3 separate regions of the Homo sapiens genome follow, and regions 2 and 3 are each linked to region 1. The links are contacts of gene promoters, found by promoter capture Hi-C in human tissues and cell types (Jung and others, 2019). All regions are on one chromosome and are shown on one strand. The core of a region is centred on a gene start or on the middle of the fragment in contact, and the rest is flanking DNA. Distances in the headings are between cores, read along the strand shown.

Region 1 (4,997 bases), core at 1,184-3,683:
CCAGGTGGTACATTCCCACTTTGAGGAAACTTGGTCATTTTACTTTTGCATTTAAGATGTCCTTAGGCTGAAAATAAAGTGTCAGTGTTTGAAATGTCCTTCTCTGTATCATTGACTTGATTTTTAGATAATATTTCAGGCTGGACTGACACCAAAAGTGCTTTTCAAAAACACATGAAAAGACCAAAATTATTTAAATAATTTACAATATATGAAAGGTAGTAAATTCTAGGCAAACATTTTAACTAGGTTTTTATGGAGAACTGACAGTGAGTAGCTTTGTGCTGAACCCTGTGTAAGGCATTAAATGATGCACTCGTGTAATTATTTTCCCTAAATTAATGCCTGTCCCTGACACATCTTAGACTTTTCCACCCTTGCCCTAAATAACTTAATTAAAAAAAAAAATTCTCCCAGCTAATTTGCTGACATATAGTCACCACTGATTTTGTCACATGTTGTTCAAGAGAGTGAGTACATTCTGAAATTAGACAGCTTACAGTGTCAGGTAAAAATTCTTACAAGGCAGAGACAGTTTTTGGAGTTGCAACTAGTTAACTGTGGGCTTCTACTTGAGACAAAAGTGACTTCATTTTATTGGAGAAAATGTCAATCAAGACGTAACTACTGACACCTGTCTTTGTTTCACCAGCCAGTAATAAAAGATAAAGCAGAGGAAATGGAGGAGCTGCAGTTATGCGTTTGCAACACACAAAGTCCTTGTTTTCCCACTAGGCGCTGCAGAAAAGCAATTGTCCATTCACGGCACATCCTCTGCATTTCAGAGCTAATATTTTTGCAGTTCTTAACTTAGTACATTCCAGTCTTATGCAGTTAATTTTTTTAACCCTTTGAAATACACCTCATGTTTGAAATCGTGCTTAATATTACTGCTAACATGACCCAGTTTTAAAGCTTTCAGGTTCTCAATGTTGAGAATAGAAACTTTAAGAAAATCGGTTAGAAATTTTGGAACAGGGTAAGGATTTCAAATAATCCTGTCTTATTTGCTATTGCATAACTTTGAGAAGGGTAATAGGGAAATCCATGGTAACCATATATTACTTAAATTGCTGTTACAAAAACCGACTCTTTGGATAGGAATGATTTTTAGCAGGGATCCTCCTTAAGACATAATAATGTGCCACTGAAAACAACATTAGCCCTGTATTGAATTGCCAATCTTCCTGCAGCATTTAGTGTGTTTACTGTATATGAATGCCTATGCCTGTCTCTGGTGCAAAGAGGTTTACTCTTATTGCAATAGTCACTCTGGCTAGAGCACATGAAGAACAGAATTTTTAAATGATTAATTAGTCCCCAGGCTCAATCACTTAAGCCCCTAATTGAATATCTGACTCCATTTTCAACTATTGTAGGAAAAGATAATTAGCAAATTTGCAGTGGTAATAAAGAAGTTTTACTTTCCTTTATAAATAATAATATCTAAATTTCTGGTCATGTAACTTAGTACTTGCATCTCTCCTGGACTTCTGAATCCAAAACATTTTTTGAAAAATGCAACAAGGTGATGAAGGATTTTTCTTCAGAGCTCATTTTTTGGACATCTTCTATTGATTTTTTTCTACCTTCAGTCTCACTATCAGCTTCTTCCCTTCTTGCCACTAATTTCTTCATCTTGAAGTCTGCTATCAACCAACATGAAAAACTCAAGAAAAAAACTAATTTCCTTCTTCCCTGTTCCACAAACCTTACCAATCCCTTTACCAGCATTTTCCTATCCTGTCCCACCAAAAATGAAAATTACCCAACTCCAAGATTTATGTTGGAGAAAAAAAATATTGCATTCTTTATTTTTTTTTTTAAAGACCACCTCAGTGTGGGCTCAAAGTGCAGTGAAAATGCCGGAGTCTCATTACACTGGTTGGAATGAAACCCTGCTGCCCTTAAACGGTTAATTCAGGGTAAGTGATAATGTTTAGTCAGTTCGCCTAGAAAAAGGAAGGAAATTCAAAAGCTGGTTGCTGTAGTAACAATCACAGACAAAAAACATATATATGTACAGGTTCATTTTAAATAAAAATCCTGCCATCTCTCTGTGACTCTATTCTCTCAAGAAAACTGAGCTTGCCGCTTAAATTTGTTGTACATACCTCAACCATTAAACAAGACATTTAACCATAGTGGCAGTTCTGTGACCTTTGAATGCCGTGAAATCTCTGAGCGGTGCTGCTTGTTCATGAAGACTTGTGCTGCAGAATCCAGCAACTTCATCCAGGATTAGGAATATAATTAAGTAACAAAAAAAAAAAAAGAAAAAAAAGGAAAAGAAATAAAGAAACACAAAAGCACACAAGGAGATCGAGAAAGAAGGAAGGTAGAAAGAGAGACTCTCCCTGGGTGAGTAACACCACTTTTCTCCCAGACAAGTGCTGGGACAGAGCCGAGCCTGCTGCAGTGCCCAGACCAACTGACTGGCTGGGTGAGCAGCCGCCGGCCTGCTAGGCTGGGAGGTGCTGTCAGTTGCCACAGGCAAGGAAAAGCAGAGACCAATCGGCTTCAACTCTGGCAGCTTACTGGAGTGGAGCCTTTTCTGTTTATGTTTCCTCATTTCAAGAGTGACGTCAAAGGGTTTAGTTTTTCCTCTGCATGTGCTATTAATTTTAAAGTACTGTACTATGGGAAGAATGTGTGTGTGCCTGTGGTCAGCCTGGGCACCCCACTCTCAGGAGAGCCCAAGAAACATTTTCTATATTCGGGAATACATTTAAAGAATTTAAAATACCTTGTGGTGAGGTGTATAAAAACAAAAGCAAAACAAAACAAAAATTAAATATAAAACCCTGAGCTAAATCATAGCAGCAAGATGTAGATTTTTTCCATCTGTGAGTGTATGTGCTCCATGCTCACTTGGCAGCTGTTGCTTATTTTTTTTTACCTAATTCATTTTTACTCTTACCTAAAAATGAGTTGTTAATTAAACTTGATAGCCATAGAGGCAGAATCGTACAAATGCACTGGTGAACAAAATGATGTGCAATGAAACATAGAACTCCTGTGTCAGTTTGTGCCATGGGTCCCTGCGTTTCCTCCAGCTTCCGTGGTGAAGCCTCAGGCTTGTTCCTGCCAGGGAGATGCCTCCTGATGCCAGCAGGAGTCATTCAAGAAGCAAGGCTATGGTGATGCCATGCAGGTGTGCCTGGGGCCTCAGCTTGTTCTTTCCCAAAGAGTATGAAGGTCCAGTTATTTAGGGATACTTCCTTTACCAGGGACCCCAGCTTATCCCTGGGTTACACTTCCCACTCTGGAAAAATCCCCATAGTTGCCATCTGTTGTTTCTGCCTCCCCCACATCCTCCTCCTTTTCCCCATCCCCATCCTAAATTCTGCTAACAGACCTTTTTTGGGTGGGCGGTGGGCGGAACTTTCCTTCCTCTATCTTCTATGGATTGCATGGACTTTGCCCCCAGCCCCATTCCCACGACAGAGCCACAAGGGGGCATGGGACCCACAGGGGCCAATCAGATTTCTCCATTGCTCCGAGGCAGACTATGTTTTAGGGGTGGGCGCAACACTAAAGAATGTCCACATTCCTTTTTCAAATACTAATATTGTTTCTTTGAGAAAGAAAGTATTTATGTATCCCTAAGAGCCTAGGCGCTAGGATTAAGCATCCCTGTAGTTGTTGGGGTTTATCTTTGGTGTTGAAGCTACAATAGTGAACAAAACAGATGGTTCTTTGCCCCCATGGAGTCTACATTTTGGAGAAGCAGGGAAATTGTCAAAGAAAAATAAGTAAACGTATAATGTCAGTTGGCAATGAGGGCTTCAAAATAAGGTAAGGAGAATGAGGTGTGTGTGTACACGTGCATGTGTGTGTGTGTGGTGTGTGTGCTATTTTAGGAAAGATGATCAGGGCAGCCCTCTGATAAAGCAACTTGGAGCGGAGGCCCGAATGATGGGACATAGCAGGTACTGTGTGCCTCTACCTTCCATGCAGATGAAGCCATGGAAAGGTCCCACAACACATGAGTGCTTGGCAGAGCCAAGGAACAGGAAGGGAAATAGAGTGGCTGGAAGAGAATGAGCAAAGGGAAGAAATAAGTTTCAGAAGGTATGTCTGGGACAAGATCAGGACATGTCTTACAGGCCATGCACACGACTTAGATTTTATTCCAAGGTGAAAACCTACCTATCAGAGTGTTTTGAACTGAGGAATGTCTATGATTCGACACGAATTCTGAAGAGATTTCTCTCTTTTCTCTGTGGAAGATAGACTCCTAGGGAGCAAGAGTAGAAGCAGAGAGACCAATAAATGAGGCCACTGTGCTAACCTAAGTGAGAGCACATCATGGCTCGGACTTGGGTGAGAGCAGTGGAGAAGGTGGGAGGGCCAGATTTTGGAAGGGGGCCTGTGTATTTGCAGAGAGCGTTGGCAGTATTTGAAGATGAGAGGTGTGAGAAAAAGAGAGGAATCAAGAGTAATTTCCAGGTTCCTGGCTTGGGCAAACTGGACTAGAGTTGCCATTTACTGACATGGGGAAGACTGGGAGAAGAGCCTGGTTTTGAGGTGAAATAAATAACAGTTCTGGACCTTCACTGAACAGCAACAGATATTTGATTGTGTACTCTGTACCAGGCACTGTTCTAGGTGCTGGGGAGAATGCAGTGAAAACATATAACACACATACACACCCTCCAACACGTAATTCTTTGACCCCACGAAACTTAGATTCTTCTGAAAGGAGAATGGCCATAACAACAAATAAAAAATTTATATAGGATATCGGGTGGTAATACTGTTGTGAAGAAGAAACAGGAGAGGGAAGGGTCACTAGTCAGATAGAGGCTTGCAATTTTAAAGTGAGTATGCAGAGAAGGTGCCACTGCAAAGATGATGTTGGACACAAAGGGGAAGTTGATGAGGGAGGCATAGGGAGAGCATTTTAAACAAGAGGACATTAAGTGCAAGGCTCTGGGGACTGGAGTATTTGGCTGGTAAGTAGTAGGATATGGCAATGGGTGCAGAGGTGACAG
Region 2 (4,997 bases), core at 1,396-3,895, 250 kb before region 1:
GGCATGAGCCACCACGCCTGGCTGGTTTCCTTTAATATTTAATATCTGTGTTCGTTTTCCTTTTTAGTATGTGTCCTGCCTTTCTCATCAGGGGAGGTAATGGAGTAGAGTGGAAAGAGCATGGACTTTAGAACACGGTAGGCCTTGGAGAAATCTGGCCCAGACGCTTGCTACTTGTGTGATCTTGGCAGATTTATTTCTCTGAGCCTCAGACGCCTCATTTATAAAATAAAGTTAAGACCCACTTCGAAGTGTCCTTGTCAGAGAAGCTAAAATAATACTCACTGCCTGGCAATAAATGCTGGTTTGCTTCCTTCTAAACTCCTGCAAAGCAGGGATCATGCATATCATGTTATTTACATTTCTCCATAATAGCACTTTGAATGCTGTCTGGTACTTAGTGGATTCTAAGTGAATGTTCTCTGTTGACAAGAGTAGAAATAAAGACCAAATTCACCAGTTATTATATATAATATGGAATCAGAGGAGAGGTAGAAATATGTGAGACATAATGTATCTCTGGAAGAACTGAATCAGGGAAGGTTTCAATTCCAGTAGTAATGGGTACACTCCCATAAATCACCTTTTTCCCGAAGTAAGGTGGCACTGGGGCCCCAGCCTGGGAGCTGAAAGGAAGAACAGTCCTCTCTCCTTCCTTTCCTAATTCCTGGAGGAACTCAGGGCCTGGGTGAGATCCCCATCAGCTGCAACTCATGCAACTGATATGCTTAAAATGTCCCTCATAGATGGGCCTTGAGTGTACTTGGGGTTGTAAAGTGCAAGCCATGAGCTCTTGGGCTGTTCTCTGCTTTGAATTTTACATTGGTGCCTTCTTCAATGCTTTGTATAATGTGATATTACATTGCCATATTGATATGAAAGAATATTGTAATTTATGGATAAATGTTATAAACCAAAGTGAGAGGAAGAGGAATAGATGGAAAAGTACTTTTATAGGTCTGAATATAAACTTACATCAATGAGGGTAAAGCTGTTAGCTTTAAAAAAAATGTACTTATGTACTTTAATATGGGGTGGCTGGTCAATAAAGGAAAGCTACCAAGAAAAGTTGAAGTGTTTTTCTCTCCTCGGCAGTTGTCTTGAACACCCTATGTTTACAAAGCACTTTCACAACATGACAGTATATTTATCTTCTTGTTTTTTCTCATTGGACCTTCATAATAACCCTGTGAGGAGAGACACCTTTATTCTCTTTACTTTATAAGTAAGAAAATAGAGGCTCAGAGAAGAATGGTTGTGAAGGACTACTATTCGCTCTGTAGTCCCAGTTAAGGGCACAAGCCCCTTAAAGTCCTGATATAGTAAATATTTATGGACTTTAATTGAGCTGCCTAAGTTTATGGTGCTTTCAGCTTATAGTCAGTGGGGTAGCACTTAAATCTAGGCTGTTAGACTTCATAGGAAGAGCTCTTTCTACAATACCGTTGTTTTCTAACCTTATGATTAGAAACACACACCTTAGGGAGTGTGTAGACCTGGTTTTTAAAATGAAAAAAGAAATGAAAATCTTAGATCCTCACATAAAAGTAGTTGTAGTTTTAATATCAATTGAGAAAATACAGCATGTTAAAATGATAGACTCACTGACTTTAAATAAATTTATGTTTTATAATGGTAAGAAGGGAGACATATACAGTAAAAATGATGCATGGAGGAGACTGTATAGATTTTATCTACAAAGCTGGCTGGGCTTGTGGATTTGTTGACCTGTTGCTGTAATCTCATGGGCTCCTTCCAGCACTTTCACGCTCACCTTTTGGAAATCACTTCTCCATTAGTATTTTCTTCTCAGTATTACCAAAGAGGAACTGTATAGATTTTATCTACAAAGCTGGCTGGGCTTGTGGATTTGTTGACCTGTTGCTGTAATCTCATGGGCTCCTTCCAGCACTTTCACGCTCACCTTTTGGAAATCACTGTGTAATATTGATGAAGTTTTTAATGCCTGTGACAGGATTTCTTCCTGGTCTTCACCTGACAATCTAGGGCAGCGGAGGCCCATTATTACGTAAAGTTTTAGATTTAGGGAAACTGAGGAAGAGTACCCTGTGGCCAAATGGATGAAGGGAGGGCAATACACTGGGAACTTGGGGGCTCCTGTACTGACAGGACGAACATTTTGCCATCTTGGGTAACCCTGGATGAATCAGTAATCACTCTGAAGTCCAGTTGTCTAATATTTAAATTGCATAAATCATAGCAATTTTATCTACATCACAGAGTTGTTGTAAGGAAATTATAAGGTATGTGAAAATAATATGGTAGATAACATTCATTGAATACTTATACTGTGCTGAGGATTTTACATGTATTATCTCACATCATCAACCCAACAACCCAAAGTAGCTGTTATTATTATTATTTGACAGCTTTACAGATGAGGAAGCAAAGCTAATGGAAATTTGATAATTTGTTCAGACTCATAGAGCTAGTAAGTGCAGAGCTTATGCTTAAACTCAGAACCGACTTGAAACCTCATGTTCTTAACCACTTTCCTATATTATCAAGATGAAAAATTGGTTAAACAGGTCAGCATTAACTTTTTCTTACGTAATGTATGCTTTGATTGCTGTTTGCTGATAAACCAAATGTACAGTCATGATGATTTGTGGAAAAAGAATACCAGGAGAATCCCACTCCCTTGATGAGTTCACGGTTCAATCAAAGAGCATTTCAGTGGAAATGGGCTGTACAAGCAAGACAACCAAATCCTGTCCTGGATCAACAAGGAATCTATTACTTTTAAGTAAGAAAGCAATTATTAAAAATATTCTTCAGCAGAACTGAAATTAGCTGGCAACAAATTTTCACACTGCACCCTACTTTGGGAAGAAGAGACAAGTAACAATGGAGCTAGGTGAGAGCAAAGATACCTAAACAAGCAAACAAACCCAAACAAATCGGCAATAACAACAAATAAGGAAACCATACCTGGAAGATTCCATTTCAGTGCTGACACTGTCCATAACTACACTGCACTTTGAGAAGCTGATTCCTCATAAACCTAACAATGCCCCTTTGGTGTAGTAAATAATCATTTTCAAAAGGATGAAATCATGTTAAGAATACCAGTAAGGCAGGAGGCAGGACAATTGTAAGTATGCTAACAATGCATCTGAGAAATTTCACAACATGAAAACAGTTCAATACAAACACACCAGACATTCCCAATCTGAAGCATTCTATTTAATGGAAGCGCTCATGTAGTAAGATTTATGTGTTAATGGTATATTTCTAATATAGAAAGTTTTCTTTCCTTCTCCCTGCTTTAAGGAGCCTGTTCTGATATTAAATTGCTTTAATACGCTGGTGGGAAGAGAGAATTAATTCAGTAACAACAGTCCTCAGAGGAGCAGAGGCTACTGGGCTGTTTTCTGAGGGACAGAACAAGCGGTGTCCTGCCTAGCTGCTTTTCCTGGCCCAGGGTCTCAGGCAATCATCTATTTACCTAAGGCCTTATATCCAAGCTAAACAATTATTTTGACTATTCATTGAGTCCTTGTTTAACTTAAGCAACTTGTTTTTTTTCTTCTGGCATATGAAAGGTGCTGTGGAAGCTGGTAGGAAGCGTTGACAGCCTAGAGTCATGTCCCCAGTCTGTTCTTATTGTGTTCCAAAAGGAAACAAACAGCAGGGGCATTCTGATTTTGAAAGGCTGCTGCTTTTTTTTGCCCCTTCAGGCTGACAACATCACATGTCATCCCCTGTACTGAAGGCTGCAAACAGGCTCAGAGCTGAGCTGAATTGCCCCAGGAGCCACGACCTGACCTGACGACAGCCCCTCACCCTCCCTGAGGACAGGGCTCCGGAATGGACCTCTTGCTTACTTGGCCTCTCACGCTGCCTCTGGTTAATAAAAGCTTGTGCTAGGAAGCAGATGTCTATGTAGCCTCTTATGTAACTGGCAAAGAGGGTGGAGACTCTGACAGCGATGACAACTTACAGTGGCTGAAACACAGGCCATGTGACAAGAACCAGACTCTGGCCCCTGTCGTGGTATGTCAAGGTCATTTCAGGGTGAGGAAAAGGTGTCAGGGACAGAGCAGTAGCTACTGGGCTTCCATGGCATCTGAGATGAATGAAGAAGATAGTGACGTTCTTGGTATAAACAGGTTGCACGGAATATGGGATAGAGATTCATAGCAGGGGCATCACTAAGGAACCAGGAAGATGAGATAGTGCTGGTATCAGAAAGGTGAAGCCGCAAAGCAGCCCAAATATGGTGGGAAAGAAGCAGCTCTCATGAAAGGTATTCCTCTGAGCTTGCTGAGCACATTACTAATTCATGTCACTGCCACCACTTGCAAAATAAAGACAGAGAAAATCCAGATCCCAAATCTCAGACAACTTTCACCATACTGCACATCTCAGCTAGAAGCTTTGTTTATTTCAGCTGACTACTCTCCAAATTAACTAAGTGAACGATTTCTCCTAAGATGTTTATCTGGCCTAAAAGAGAGGAGGAAGGTTGTGCAATTTAATCACTCCATAGATTTATGGGATAGCACAAGCAGCCAGTTCAGATAACTTAGGCAGAGATTATTGTTCCGAGTACCATGATCTTACAGGAGGGAGCCAAGATGGCTGATTAGACCCAAATTTCCCCTGTGGGCGTTCAATCTTCCACTTTCTTGAGTGACACTGGGCCTGCCTGGTCATCAAGGACTATGTGCTGAACTGGCTAAGTAGGAGGCTTCCTGTCCATTGTTCTGTTTCACTAGCTGTGTGTTCCTGGGCTGTCGGTGAGAGAGCTTTGTATGTAGGAAAGAGGCAAACCAGGAGTTAGTCGTCCAGAAACCACATTTTTCGCAAAAGGAATGAAACACAATTTTCTTTGCATGTGAAAAAAGTTCTTTCTTCTCTTCTTAAAAATCTTGATTTGCATATAAAAATCAGAGAAAAGGGAAATTTCACTAAGTTAGAGTCGCCAAACAATACTGCATCACCTTGCATCTTTAGCTTAGAATGATGACTTT
Region 3 (4,997 bases), core at 690-3,189, 210 kb before region 1:
TAATTTACACCTTTTCTCTGATTTATGGCATTTTTACTCAGCTAATAAAATGATTTTAGGTTCTTACTTACATACTTCTCATGCATACTACTGTTTATACATTTGAATTTTAATATAATGTTTCCTTAAAGTGGGCAGAAAAGAAGAAAGGGCAGAGGAGACAACTGGAAGAGAAAGTACAAGGAGAGGAAAAAATAACAAATCAAATGGGAGCCAAAAGAATCACTCCCTTTCCCCATAAGGTCAGGAACAGGGTGAAGGTCTGGGATTATGACCTAGATTTAGAAATCATCCTTATTCAGGAAAAATGCTCTGCAAAATAATGATTAGCTAAAGAAGAAGGAGGGATATATTAGCTATTCATTTTTATAAACTAGATTTAAAATAATTATCCATTTTCATTCTGATATATGTGTCTTCCAATTTTTCAAGATTAACATTCCACATTAGAATACATGGGTTTGAATTTTACTTAGTTCTTCATGCCTGGTTCCTCAATTCCAAACTGGGTTGAAAATTCTCAAAGGGAAGGGCTGTAATTGGTATGTCTTCCTATCCCTCTCCAAGCTTGGCAGAGTTCAGGTGGATCAGGAATGATTAATTTATGGCAAATACTTCCTATAAAGTGATGTTCAATGTTCCAACCACCACCTTCACTATTTTCTTAATTAAGGTGTAGGATGATTAGCCTTTTACTTATGGAAGCAATCCATTTATTTCAACTGTGAGGAGGTAAGAGTTAAAATTTTGAATGTGAAGTAGTCATGAAAACTGAGCAGCATGATTTTGGGGAGATTAATCGAGTAGACTTTGGGATAGTATTCAAGCAGCTACTACGTTCTTGGAGTTTGCATAATTAAAACTTATAAATTTATGCCTAGCATCTAGGCTTTTCCCGCTCAACTGCAGCAAAGCCACCACCCCTCCTTGCCAAAGTTGTCATTCTGAGCTTAAATCAAATGCGGGCTCTGTTTCAAGCGACTGTGCCTTCCTGGCAGGGTTCCACCACAGCTCAGATCTCCACAGCATCCAGTTTGTCTGGCTGTGGTGCACAGAGAAGGAAAGTTTACATCGGCATAGCAAGTAGGAAGATTGCCTTTTGATTCTCCATCCAGGGATTTGATTAATTTTGTATAATTGCATTGAGGAATTATTAAGCAATTGGGGTCAGAGATGAAGTCTGCATTCATTCTTCCATCTTTTCTCTGCCTCAGAAACAAGTCACTCAACCCATTTATGCCTAGTGTTCCATTATTGGAAGACTAACCTTGTGGGAGTTATTTATATCCTATTGCTCAAGGTCATCACCAAGGTCTGATTTTTTACAAAAATAAATTGCAATCTCTGGCATAAATGGGTTAACTCCTAAACTGTAAAGTTGCTGTTAGTTAGACCACCCCTGGCCCAAAGCACAGGTCAACTTGACCTGTCAACACACTTCATGCCAAACAACTGTTCAGACTGACTCATTCATAATTCATGCATCTAAAAAGACATAATCATGGATTATGTGTATTTAAGTTGCTGACTCTCTAATCCTATTTCTGCTATTTCCATAGCAGAACCTAAAAGGCTTACTTTCTATTAAACTATTCGTTATATAAATCACTTTTTTCCCCCCAAATCAGTGTCCTCAATGGTTGAGTAGTTATTTAAAGTAAATGACTTTGGTTCTAGTAGTCATTTAGTTCTAGTAAATGGACATGGTATACTATTTTTCCCCCTGAATTCTGTAAAATACCACCCATTAAAATCTCTCTTCCTCATCCCCTCTCTTACATTTTCCCCAAATCCACATGTTTGACAGCACAGAAGGATACCAGTTAACATGTGTGTTGATAAAAGATGAGGTTTATAAGCCTCCTGAATCTACCATTGCTTAAAACATTGGAATATCATAAACTAGGGCTGCTAATGAATAGTACATCCAAAACTCAGATAATTCTTACTAGTCTTATTACCTTAAAAGTAATTAACCAGGTATTCTTTTTTCTTAATTCCCTTTGGTTATTGTTTCTGCTTTGCTACTGAATTCCCAGGAAATAGACACTGGAGGTGGGATGGGGACATAGTTTTTGTCCAGTGAGCATGCTGGGAATTCTGAATATTTTCAGCCTCCTTTGGACATTTGTGGGTGAGCAGATGTTACATGTTTTCAGGGTGTCCTTTATTTCCAATTGAAGATTATCCAAACTCTGAAATCTCATGAGGATATCTAATGGTTTTTCTTGAACATAACTGGAAGACCTTGACCCCTGCCAATTTCATTAGGAGATAAACTATTACTGTATGTTGATCTCTTTACAAAACCCCTGATTTTTGAGTTCCCCCCTATCTGGTGCTTTGGAAAGATCTGCCACTTGTCAAGAGTGATCAGTCTTGATTCCTAAAAAGCAGTGGTTGGAATTCTAATGGCAATGTGTTATAGATTGTCTTTTTGCATTATTAAATTGTGAGCAGAGGCGGGCGCAGTGCCTCATGCCTGTAATCCCAGCACTTTTAAAGGTCGAGGCAGAAGGATTACCTGAGGTCAGGAGTTCGAGACCAGCCTGGAAAACATGGTGAAACCCCGTCTCTACTAAAAATAAAAAAATTAGTCAGGCGAGGTGGTGCACGCCTGTGACCCCAGCTACTTGGGAGGCTGAGGCAGGAGAATTGCTTGAACCTGGGAGGTGGAGGTCGCCGTGAGCTGAGATGGCACCACTGCACTCCAGCCTGGGTGACAGAACAAGACTCCGTCTCAAACAAAAAACTGTGAGCAGATATCATCCCAACAAAATGGTGATCTAGAATCTAGATTCAAGTAAAAGCTTTGTGATGACATGGGTTTTTGACTTAAGTGGCCATTCATACCATGAATAATTGACAACTCAAAAATCAGAACACAAACTTCTCCTTTTAACTAAGGATTTAGTTGACAACCAAATACTGGCAAATTCAACATTGTGTGTACAAAATTACTTTTGCATGTAATTTGACACAACCAAATTTTAAACTCTGCATCTCCACCCTAAACCATTCAGAACATTTTGGTAATTGTATGATTAGAGGTATTAGGCTTTCATTGTATACTTTGATGTATAATGGGTGAGAGTTTGATTAAAAAATAGAAGGATACTTTCAAGATTTACCATGGGAATTGCAAATATAATTAAGCCAAAAGTCTGTTCTATGACTTTTCTTTCCACTATTTATCACTCAGAGTAATGAACCATGGATGAGGGAATGTGAATTGAGTTAGTGCTTCCTGATCTTCAAGGATAAGATAAAAAGGCAACTTAATATTTCTGGGTAATCAGTAGAAATGAGAATAGTGTGGGATAATAACCATTAGCATGTACATCACTTAGCTTATTATGTACCAGCAGTGTGCTAGTTCTTTGTGTGGATTAACTGATTTAACCTTCACAATCGCACCACAATGCAGTTTCTTTGGTTATTTCCATCTTACAAATGAGAAAACCGAGGTCCAAAGACTTTAGTAAAGATACAGGGCCATTGGGCTCCAGAGCTCATCTTTTAACCATGATAATGAATTAAAGAGAAGTATGCCTAATGATAGGGCCAAAGGGGAGGGGCTTAGGGAAATAGAAGGCTATTAATTTTTCATAAGATTAACAAAAAAGAATACAAACCAGAACCACAAACATAAAAAAGATGGAGTCGGCCAAGCGCGGTGGCTCACGCCTGTAATCCCAGCACTTTGGGAGGCCGAGGCAGGTGGATCACCTGAAGTCTGGAGTTTGAGACCAGCCTGGCCAACATGGCAAAACCCCGTCTCTACTAAAAATACAAAAATTAGCTGGGTGTGGTGGCAGGTGCCTGTAATCCCAGCTATTTGGGAGGCTGTGGCAGGAGAATCGATTGAACCCAGGAGGCGGAGGTTGCAGTGAGCCAAGATCACGCCATTGCACTCCAGCCTGGGCAACAAGGGCAAAACTCTTGTCAAAAAAAAAAAAAAAAAAAAAAAAAAAAAAAAAAAAAGGATTCTATCTGCAAAGGAGCTCAGAATTGAAGGCTTACTGAAAAGTGTGCCTCTAACTAACTTTTCAGCTTTGTAGGGCAATTGCCAAAAAGCAAGAACTGCAGAAAGAACTTGACAGTTTTTAAGATGGCCCACGAAGCCTTTAAAACACATTAATATAATTAGAAGTCATATCACCGTTATAAATAAACAGTTCACCTGTGTATGCACATATCTTGGCTGGCCCTTAATTAAAGCTTGGTTTCCAATGAAGGGACAAAGTTATTCAACATGGTTAGTGTGGGGAAGACTGAAGACGTATAGCAACTGTCGACCTTGACCTTGGTGAGCTGTCAGGAATAGGAGCAGCTCACCTCTAAGAAGTTAAGACACACAATACAGAACATGTCTTTCTAGTGCCATCCAGATTCCTCCTCCTCCTTCTACGTTTCCCCTCATTCTCTGTGCCACCTCTGGCATTATCTAGCTCCCGTCTTCTTTTTCCTTTCTGAACTCCATTGTTCTTTTAAAAAGCCGGTGTTACTTTGGAAATTATACTTTCTGGAATCTTTTAGTCTTCCCCTCTTCTCCTTCCTTATCTTGCAGGATCATTGTCCAGTGTCTTACTAATACAAAGAAAGAAGCTTGTTCTTTGTACAAAGGAGCAAGAACCTTGTTTCGTTTCTGCTGTTAATCTGGTTCCTTTAGACCCCGCCCCCTTGCCCATGCCACATGGGCAGCCCTCCTCTGTAAGTTTCTTTGGAAGTGGTCTCAGAAACAATGTCTGGACTGCAGATCTAGGTACACTTAGCACCCAGCTGCTCCTCACTTTTGTACTGAATAGGAATGGATCCACTTGTTTTCATATTTACTGTGCTGCTTTCAGTGTAATATTTATCTTTTAATCTAAACATGCACATTCTTTCCAGTCTTTCTGGATCTTTGGGAAATACTAAAAGGATTTTCACTGAGAAGAATGTTGGGCAAAGTGTGTGAAATGGGTTCAAATAAAATGAAAAATGTATTCAGATAT

What was found. The method cuts DNA at HindIII sites, captures the fragments that hold promoters and counts their contacts. A contact is called where the count stands out against the background at its distance.
Region 2: a fragment that was not itself captured here is called in contact with the fragment with the promoter of PDE7B in region 1 in 1 of the 25 tissues and cell types used here (hippocampus).
Region 3: a fragment that was not itself captured here is called in contact with the fragment with the promoter of PDE7B in region 1 in 2 of the 25 tissues and cell types used here (IMR-90 fibroblasts and heart right ventricle).

Annotation. Positions count from the first base shown.
Region 1 is chr6:135,849,137-135,854,133 of GRCh38, reverse strand. PDE7B (phosphodiesterase 7B) reads right to left here and starts at 2,433. Exons shown (of 13, transcript NM_018945.4): 1 at 2,115-2,433. The coding sequence starts at 2,135. It overlaps LOC101928373 (a long non-coding RNA gene), which reads left to right. Exons shown (of 3, transcript NR_187609.1): 3 at 1-98. RefSeq lists a silencer at 2,409-2,646. The HindIII fragment of the contact is 14,106 bases long and covers 1-4,997 here.
Region 2 is chr6:136,102,873-136,107,869 of GRCh38, reverse strand. The region is part of intron 2 of PDE7B (phosphodiesterase 7B); the gene reads right to left. Among named protein-coding and RNA genes, the nearest start is that of PDE7B-AS1, 33 kb to the right of the region's middle. The HindIII fragment of the contact is 6,608 bases long and covers 1-4,997 here.
Region 3 is chr6:136,055,500-136,060,496 of GRCh38, reverse strand. The region is part of intron 2 of PDE7B (phosphodiesterase 7B); the gene reads right to left. The region is part of intron 3 of PDE7B-AS1 (PDE7B antisense RNA 1); the gene reads left to right. Among named protein-coding and RNA genes, the nearest start is that of PDE7B-AS1, 15 kb to the left of the region's middle. The HindIII fragment of the contact is 4,952 bases long and covers 1-4,415 here.